Regions from separate parts of the Homo sapiens genome. Here region 2 is linked to region 1. Evidence: promoter capture Hi-C in 16 types of primary human blood cells and fetal thymus (Javierre and others, 2016). All regions are on one chromosome and are shown on one strand. Each heading gives the region's core, a stretch centred on a gene start or on the middle of the fragment in contact. The rest is flanking DNA. Distances are from core to core; before and after follow the strand shown.

The links. Contacts are between HindIII fragments. The CHiCAGO score rates a contact against its expected background, and 5 or more counts as called.
Region 2: the fragment with the promoter of H3-4 here is called in contact with a fragment that was not itself captured in region 1 in 1 of 17 cell types (erythroblasts); the score reaches 5.2 in erythroblasts.

The regions. Positions count from the first base shown.
Region 1 is chr1:228,271,500-228,275,972 of GRCh38, reverse strand. OBSCN (obscurin, cytoskeletal calmodulin and titin-interacting RhoGEF) reads right to left here. Exons shown (of 116, transcript NM_001386125.1): 20 at 3,752-4,048; 21 at 2,426-2,701; 22 at 1,925-2,203; 23 at 1,529-1,795; 24 at 1,132-1,401; 25 at 1-213. It overlaps LOC124904535 (a long non-coding RNA gene), which reads left to right. Exons shown (of 3, transcript XR_007066916.1): 1 at 1-274; 2 at 903-2,213. Among named protein-coding and RNA genes, the nearest start is that of OBSCN-AS1, 60 kb to the right of the region's middle. The HindIII fragment of the contact is 4,392 bases long and covers 441-4,473 here.
Region 2 is chr1:228,422,816-228,427,288 of GRCh38, reverse strand. H3-4 (H3.4 histone, cluster member) reads left to right here and starts at 1,929. Exons shown (of 1, transcript NM_003493.3): 1 at 1,929-2,444. The coding sequence starts at 1,964. The coding sequence ends at 2,374. The HindIII fragment of the contact is 2,523 bases long and covers 1,701-4,223 here.

The DNA of each region.
Region 1 (4,473 bases), core at 1,387-3,886:
AGCCACGGTCGGCAAAACCTACGTTGTGCAGAACCAGGCGGTGGCGGGCGCCCTCGGCGTGGATCTCCACGTTCTTTCCCGGCGCCAGGGCCGTCGCGTTCCGTGTCCACCTCAGCTCCGGCCACGGCCGCGTCAGCTCCACCTCCAGGGTCACCGAGCTCCGCTCCTCCACCGTCTGCGGCTCCAGCTTCTTTTTGAACAGCACAGGCGCCTCTGGGGTCGCAGGAGAGGGGAGGTCACGGCGGCCCTCGCCCTCCTCCACGGACAAGCCAAGGTACAGAGGGCCCGCACAGCCCCGGCGCCTGCCCTGAGCCGGGCCCAGGCAGAGCTGCCGGCACCGCGCCCCGGGATCCCAATCCAAACAGCGCGGCCCTGGCCACACGCGGGCCGCAGCTGCGCACCCTCCCGGGTGCGACTTTAAGCGAGGAAACCAGGAAGCTTCCTTAAGCCCCGCTCCCACCTCCAGCTCCCCTGCTCTGAACAAGACGCCAGGCCCTTGTGCCTCGAAATCCTAGACGTGATCCCCACTAGTAGCACTGGCAGGAACTGCAGAGGGGGGAAGACAGAGCTTCCCCAGGCGCAACGGCGGTTTAGCAAAGCCCAGGACTCCTGCGCAGGTTAAGGAAGAGGCGCTGGCGGGCCTCTCTGCCTCAGGCCACCCGTCAACTCCGCAGAAGGTGAATCTGCTGCATCACTCCCTTACTCTAGAACCTGCCATGACTCCCACTTCCCTTCAGGGCAAGTTCTGGCTTCTGGCTTCAGCAGCATGGGAAGCCCATGTCACTGCTTGCACTGGTGCTAACCCCACTCTCTCTTCCCTGCCATCCATCAGGCTAAGTATGCACCCACCTACTCCAGAAAGCCTCCCTGGATTGCCTCAGCCTCCCCCCATTCCCCACCAGGTGCAACTGCAGGATTGTATCTTCTCTATACCAAGAGAAGGCACCTGGCCCATCCAGCCTACCGGAGTCTCCTCTCTGCAGCCCACACACCCCGTGTCTCCTGAGGTCAGCCGGACCAGCCGTAACAGGACAGCAGTTCCAGGTGCCCACTCAGAACCAGCCCACAGGGGAGGTGCCTGTGCAAGGAGCCCTGGCCAGCCAGGCAAATCCTGCTGCCCCCCACACTCACCTCGGACCCTCAGGGCAGCAGAGGATGAGGCGCCCTCAGCCTCCACGGTGATCTGGCCCGCGTCCTCCAGCACCAGGTCTGAGATGGTCAGGCTGTGGCTGGCGCCACTCTGTGATATGGCAAACTTCTCGCTGGGCTGAAGCAGGGCACCGTCCCGGAACCACACGACTGCCACATCACTGGGGGACACCACGCACTGGAAGGTGGCCTCGCCGCCCTCCTCTGCGACCACGGTGCTCAGCCCAGACATAAACTTCACCACTCGGGGCACTGCAGACAGGAGCACTGCTTAAGAGGCGGGCGCACAGGACTGGCAGAGCCCTTACGCTGCAGGAGTACCAAAGGCCGCCTCCTCCAGGAGGCTGCCCTGGATAGGGACACTCGACCCCTTACATACCACTGACGGTGAGCTGCGCACTGGTGTGGTCATCACGGCTCTCACACACGTACTCCCCTGCGTCCTCTGCGCGCAGCCCCAACACAGTGAGTGAGCGCACGGGCCCCTCGGCCACCATCTGGAAGCGCTTGCCCACCCGAAGCTGCGTGTTGCCGCAGCGCCACACCACCTCTGCACACGCTGGGCTTAGCTCGCAGGCCAGTGTCACCGTGCCACCCAGCTCGCCGCACACAGGCTCCAGCAGCCGGCAGAACTTGGCGGCCACCTCTGTGGGCACAAAGGGGACATCAGCCGGGCTCTTAACAGACCAGACTTGAGCCCCAGCTTCGCCCCTGTCCAGCTCTGGGACAGAGGTGTCTGGAGGAGTCCCCGCCCCACGCCCCATGCCCGGCTCACCTTCCACCTGCACTGGGAAGTCCTGCCCCTCTGCGCCCACACGGCAGCTGTAGATGGCGCTGTCCAGAACCTGGGCGCCATGCACGGTCAGGGTGTGGGTGTCCCCCTGGCTGGCTGTCTCATGCCGCTTGCTGCGGCGAATCTCCACACCATCCTTGAGCCAGGTCACCGTGGCCGCAGAGGGTGTGGCCAGTGTGGCGGTCAGGATGATGTCTTCATGCTCCTTGACCACCAGAGGCTCCCTGCGGCAGGGTCTCTCTGAAATTTGGGGCTCCAGCTCTGGGTAGAGGTGAGTTGGCATGAGAGGGGGACCCTGTCATCCCTGGACCGGCCCCGCTCCCTTCAGGGCCACCCTAATGCTACCTGGCACCCCTGATACCCATTGCTCTTCAAGGATGGCCCAGTGCAGTCCTGAGCACCATCAACTACCATCCAGAATCCCAGGGACCATACAGTGTGGCCATCAGCTTCAGGCGAGGTGGATTCACCCAAAGCACTGACCTGCCACGTGCAGGCGGAAGGACAGCCGTTGGCCCCCCGCCTCACAGCTGTACTCCCCAGCATCCGCCTGGCCCGCCTGCTGCACTACCAGCCTCCGTGTGTAGCCGCTGGCCTCCATGTGCACTTTTGAGCTGGAGCTCAGCTTCTTCCCGTCCTTGTACCATGTCACCTCCATCTGGCCCTGGGCCACCTCACAGCTCAGCGTGGCACTGGCCCCCGCCTCCGCCTGCACCTCCCTGCATGCCGGCTGCTCCTTGGCAAACACCACCTTGGGCTCTGGGATGGACAAGGAGGGATGCAGGGTCAGAGGCTCCAGAGCAGACACAGCCCATGTGTCAGCCCAGTGACAGCCAGGCAGGGCTGTCCATCATTAAGCAGTGCACGGTGACGCACAGAGCTCCCCCCGGCACTACCAGAGCCAAAGGTCTAAGGCTGCATGTTGGCAGCACCATCATCATGTCCCTTGGGAACAGGATGCGGCCCCTTCCCTGCCTCGGTCTTCCAGGGCCCTGGGGCCCTCACCTGTCGCCAGCCCTCCCCACCACGCAGGGCCACAGGCAGTAGGACGTGAAGGGTCAGGAGAGATGGACCAGCAACCTGGGCCAGCCCAGAGGCAGCGGAGTGTTGGCAGGGCCATTGGAAAGAGGGTGCCAAGCTGAGTGTGGTCTGTTGTCCCCAGCTCAGGGACAGGGTGGAAGGGAGATGGATATCAGAAAGACAGGTGGACACATGGTGATGACCAAGGGGCCCAGCACAGGCTTACAGAGATCTAGGGCCCAGAGCACAGAGACAAGCCCCCACCACCCAGTACACGCTCTCCAGTCACTGCCGGGCCCTCCCATGGCCCAGCACCCACAGAGGAGTCAGCAGATCACATTAGACCAGACCCAGACCCCCACCCCAAGGACATCACACCACTGTCCCCACCACCCAGACAGAAATCATCACATCTGACCAGACCCGGACCCCAGACCCCCGAGGACATCACGCTACTGTCCCTACCACCCAGACAGGGGTCCTCACATGAGACCGGACCCAGACCCCAGACCCACACCCCAAGGACATCATGCTACTGTCCCTACCACCCCCGGCTCAGCCACTGCAGGGCACACACCATGGTCAACTCAGCCCATGGGCCTGCTCTAGTCTCATGACATAAGGACACTGGCCTGAGAGCTGCTGGGGAGAGCTGGGGACACAGATTCTGAGGCCTACATAGAGGGAAGGTGCCAGGGCCCACAGCACCTTGGGCCGCCCAAACATGCCCTTGTAGTTTCACACCCGACACTCAGCATCACCTCCATTTTGCCTAACCCTGGCACCCACCAGCCACATGCAGATGGAAGGAGAGCCGCTGGCCCCCAGCCTCGCAGCTGTACTCCCCGGCGTCCGCCTGGCCTGCCTCCTGCACCACCAGCCTCCGTGTGCAGCCCACGGCCTCCACACGCATTTTCGAGCTGGAGCTCAGCTTCTTCCCGTCCTTGTACCACATAACCTCCGTCTGGGCTTGGGCCACCTCGCAGCTCAGCATGGTGCTGGTCCCTGCCTCAGCCTGCACCTCCCTGTGCACCGGCTGATCCTTGGCAAACACCACCTGCTCCTTGGCAAACACCGCCTTGGGCTCTGGGGATGGACAAGGAAGGACATACGAGGTCAAAGATACAGCCTAGGTCAGGAAGACCACCCTAGGATAGGAGGGCCTGGATGAGGAAGTAGGAGAAACAGAACCTTCCCCAGGCTCTGCACTGGCTGCGTGGCCAGGAGAAGTCCTGCCACCTCCCAGCGCAAGAATCACAGTTTGTCTATCCACTGTGCACGGCGCCATGGGCTATCACAGGTGGGGCAGCTATGACAAACCCTCCATGCATGAGCTCCTCCAGGGCAGGGACTAGGGTACCTGCACATGCGGCTCTTCTTCAAGCATGTATGGAGCTTTAAATCCACTTGTCATTTTTCAACCTTGCATCCCCCAAAACCACATTTGTTTGGATTTTGATTGAGACTGAACGTCTTTCATTCTTCCATGGCTTCTATCCACTTTAGATCTT
Region 2 (4,473 bases), core at 680-3,179, 150 kb before region 1:
ACAGCCCATCTCTACAAAAAAATTAAAAATTTAAAAATTAGCTGGATGTGGTCCCAGCTACTTGGGAGGCTGAGGTAAGAGGGGCCTGGGCAACAGAGCAAGATGAAAAAAGGAGGGAAAGGAGGGGAGGGGAAGGGAGAAGAAAAAAAGGAAGGGAGGGAGGGAGTGAGGAAGGGAGGGAAGGAGAAAGGAAGGGAGGGAAGGAGAAAGGAAGGGAGGGAAGGAGAAAGGAAGGGAGGGAAGGAGAAAGGAAGGGAGGGAGTGAGGAAGGGAGGGAAGGAGAAAGGAAGGGAGGGAGGGAGAAAGGAAGGAAGCAAGCATAGGGCCCACCTCTGCTTCTGGTGAGGGCCTCTGGCTGCTTCTGCTCATGGTGGAAGGTGAAGGGGAACCCATGTATGTGCAGAGGTCACAGGGCTGCCGCGAGAGAGGACGCCAGAGAGAGAGGGGAGAGGGGTGCCAGGCTCTTTTCAACACCAGCTCTTCAGGGAACCAACAGAGTGAAAACTCACCCTAAAGGAGGGCAGGACTCTATTCAGAGGGTGACACCCCAGGACCCACACACCTCCCACTGGCCCCCCCCTCCCTGGGCTCCAACTTTAGGGATCAAATTTCAACTTGAGAGTTGGAGGAGATTTGGAAGCTTCCACCTCCCGTCCTTGATGATAAGAACGTTCCCTTGCTTTTACTATAAGGAGAACATCTTTCATATGGGAATTTCATCTCTTGTATTTAAGAAACAACAAGAAATTCAGAATGATCTTCCTACACCTGCTTCTTCTTTTTTTTTTTTAAGTGCCTTTATCTCAAAATAGACAATATGCCAGAAAGGCACATCTTTACCTTCTTCAGAATCCTAAGGCTCATCTAAGCCGTACAGGTAAGGGAGTTCTTTGCAGGTCATAAAAAGTGGGAGATTCCTTTAACTCTGGCTGCATCCCAGAGCTTTGTCACTGTGTAAAAGTGGAATGCCGGCCGGGCACGCTGGCTCACGCCTGTAATCCCAACACTTTGGGAGGCCGAGGCGGGCGGATCACGAGGTCAGGAGATCGAGACCATCCTGGCTAACATGGTGAAACCCCGTCTCTACTAAAAATACAAAACAAAATTAGCCAGGCATGATGGCGGGCACCTGTAGTCCCAGCTACTCTGTAGGCTGAGGCAGGAGAATGGCGTGAACCCGGGAGGCGGAGCTTGCAGTGAGCTGGGATTGCGCCACTGCACTCCAGCCTGGGCGACAGAGAGAGACTCCGTCTCAAAAAAAAAAAAAAAAAAGTGAAATGCCAGCTGGGCCTGGTGGCTCATGCCTGTAATCCCAGCACTTTGGGAGGCCGAGGCGGGTGGATCACCTGAGGTCAGGAGTTCGAGACCAGCCTGGCCAATATGGTGAAACCCCATCTCTATTAAAAACACAAAAAATTAGCCAGGCATGGTGGCGGACACCTGTAATCCCTGTAATTCCAGTTACTCGGGAGGCTGAGGCAGGAGAATCGCTTGAACCTGGGAGGTGGAGGTTGCAGTAAGCAGAGATCACGCTATTGCACTCCAGCCTGGGCAACAAGAGTGAAACTCCATCTCAAAAAATAAAAAAATAAATTAATTTTTTAAAAAAGTGGAATGCCATGTGCTGGCTTCTGGAAGGCTCTTGCCACCCAAGTCATGGGGAAGGGAGAAGAGGAGCGCTGAGAAGACATGAGGAAGCTTGTGCTGGAGAGAGATGATCCCCACCACCGCGGCCTACCCGCATCAACCCTTCACAATGCTGGTGCCAGCTCTGGTGGCCACGACCAACAGGCATGAATATAAGGGAGAGGCGCCCGAGTGGAGTTCCCTGTGGGCCAATCAGAGAGCAGTGGGCCATCACGCCACCTGAGGCCAGCCAATGGGAACGCGGCAAGCTCTATAAAAGCGAGCAATCCGCTGAGGTCTGGGCAGAGGACACCGCGGGGCCAACAGTTTCGGATTCATGGCCCGAACCAAGCAGACTGCGCGCAAGTCAACGGGTGGCAAGGCGCCGCGCAAGCAGCTGGCCACCAAGGTGGCTCGCAAGAGCGCACCTGCCACTGGCGGCGTGAAGAAGCCGCACCGCTACCGGCCCGGCACGGTGGCGCTTCGCGAGATCCGCCGCTACCAGAAGTCCACTGAGCTGCTAATCCGCAAGTTGCCCTTCCAGCGGCTGATGCGCGAGATCGCTCAGGACTTTAAGACCGACCTGCGCTTCCAGAGCTCGGCCGTGATGGCGCTGCAGGAGGCGTGCGAGTCTTACCTGGTGGGGCTGTTTGAGGACACCAACCTGTGTGTCATCCATGCCAAACGGGTCACCATCATGCCTAAGGACATCCAGCTGGCACGCCGTATCCGCGGGGAGCGGGCCTAGGAGGGCTATCTCGCCACCTGAGAGGTTGCGCAACGTTCACCCCAAAGGCTCTTTTAAGAGCCACCCACCTGGTCGAAGAGTTGCTGTAGCAAGCTAGTCTCTTGGGTTTCGGGGGGTTCCTTCCGCTGGCCTGTGCTGGCTTACCTACTTCTGATTAGGGTGGGAGGCTGGTGAATCCTGTGTTCACCCTGTCCAGTTAGGAGGCCAGCTACTCACACGCGTTACCTCTCAGCCTGTCTCCAGTCACAAATCCAGCTAGTAGTGTGTGGGGCTAACTTGGCCTATCCGTTTAGATAAGAATCATGGTTGGTCTGTTTTGGGGACGGGGTGTTGAGGGTAGCCTAATTGGTCTATCTCCAGTTAGGTAAGCAACCCCAGCTAGTTGTGTCAACTCAGCCTATCTACAGTTAGGTTGGAAGGCTGGCTGGTCTTGTGTGTTCTCAGCTCAGCCTCTTTCAAATTAGGTTAGAAGTCCTGCGTGTGTGTGTGTGTGTGTACACGCAGCTTGTTTCCAGTGAGGTTACCAGTCCAGCTAGTCTTCTGCCTTGACAGCCCATCTCCTGTTAAGGCCAGCAAGTAGTATGTATTATCTTGGCCTATTTTAAGTTAGAAGTCCAGCTACTTCACCAGCATAGCAGCTTACGCCTGTAATCCCAGCACTTTGGGAGGCCGAGGCGGGTGTATCACCTGAGGTCAGGAGTTCCAGACCAGCCTGGCCAACATGGTGAAACCCCATCTCTAAAATTAGCCGGGTTTGGTGGCGCATACCTGTAATCCCAGCTACTTGGGAGGCTGAGGCAGGAGAACTGCTTGAACCCAGGGGGCGGAGGTTGCAGTGAGCCAAGATCATGCCACTGCACTGCAGCGTGGGCAACAGAACGAGACTCAATCTCAAAAAAAAAAACAAAAAAAAGTCCAGCTACTTGTGTGTTTTAACTCAGCCTACCTCCTGTTAATTTAGAAGGCTGGCTAGTTGTGTATCTTTTTAACTTGGGCTATCTCCCATTAGGTTAGAAGGCTGGCTAGGGGTGTGTGTGTGTGCACGTGCACCCATGTGCACACATATGTAGCTGTGGTGTTGGCCCATCTCGGGTTAGAAGTCCATCTCATTGTATGTGTTAACATACCCAATCTCCCATTCAGTTAAAAGGCTGGCTAGTCATGTATGTTGTAAATTCACCCTGTCTTCTGTTAGGGTAGATGACTAGCTAGTTGTGTGTGAGAAGCCCAGCTAGGCATGTGCATTGTTAATTCCTAAGTGAAATCAATACTGGGAAACCCCAGCCCAAAGTTCAAAGAGGGCACTCTGCCCTGGAAGTCAGTTTACTGAGCAGTCGCAGACAGGCGTGGCCCATGTGCCCAGCACTTTGAAACAGGCTTCCCAGCGCCACAAAGTAGTCTGGCAGTGCTCTGGGGATGAGAGACACAGAGACCAACTTGCTGAGAAATCCTACAGCTAGGGCAGCAGGCCACAGATCCAATAGTAGACTTATGTCAGGAAAACCTGAGGATGGCTGTGAGGATAAGGATGTAGGGATTGTCTCCCTCTGGTACAGGTTGGAATCATTTATTTGTGAAAGGCTTTATTAAATTGAATGAGGCCAAGCACTACCCCATGCTGGGATCATGGAGGGAATAAAATCCATTTCCTGTGGCTGCTGCCCACTCTGCTTTCAAGGTGCTTATGCTTGAGTGAAGGGGGCCTGTATTGTGTGTAGAAGCAATGATAGTAAAAGGTGCTCTTATACATAGCAAGGGATGTGCATAAAGTGCTATCAATAGGCAACAGTGGATTTTATAAGTCTCTTTGAACCCAATTTATAGCCTGTTGACTCAAAATTCAAAAGCTTCATCAATTTATTAGTACACACACAACTGAACATCATACCCTTTAAATCTCAGGATGTATTTAAACTTATGAGTGCCAGATCCTTGGAGGGCTATCCAGAAAGCCTAGAATATTCAGGGACAGCTATGTTCTGGTTTTGAAAGTCAGCTCTGACTTTCAATACTAGACTCCTTTGGGATAAATTTAAGTTTTCCCTTTTTGTTTTGTTTTTTCAGAGACAGGGTCTTGCCATGCTGCCCAGGCTAGAGTA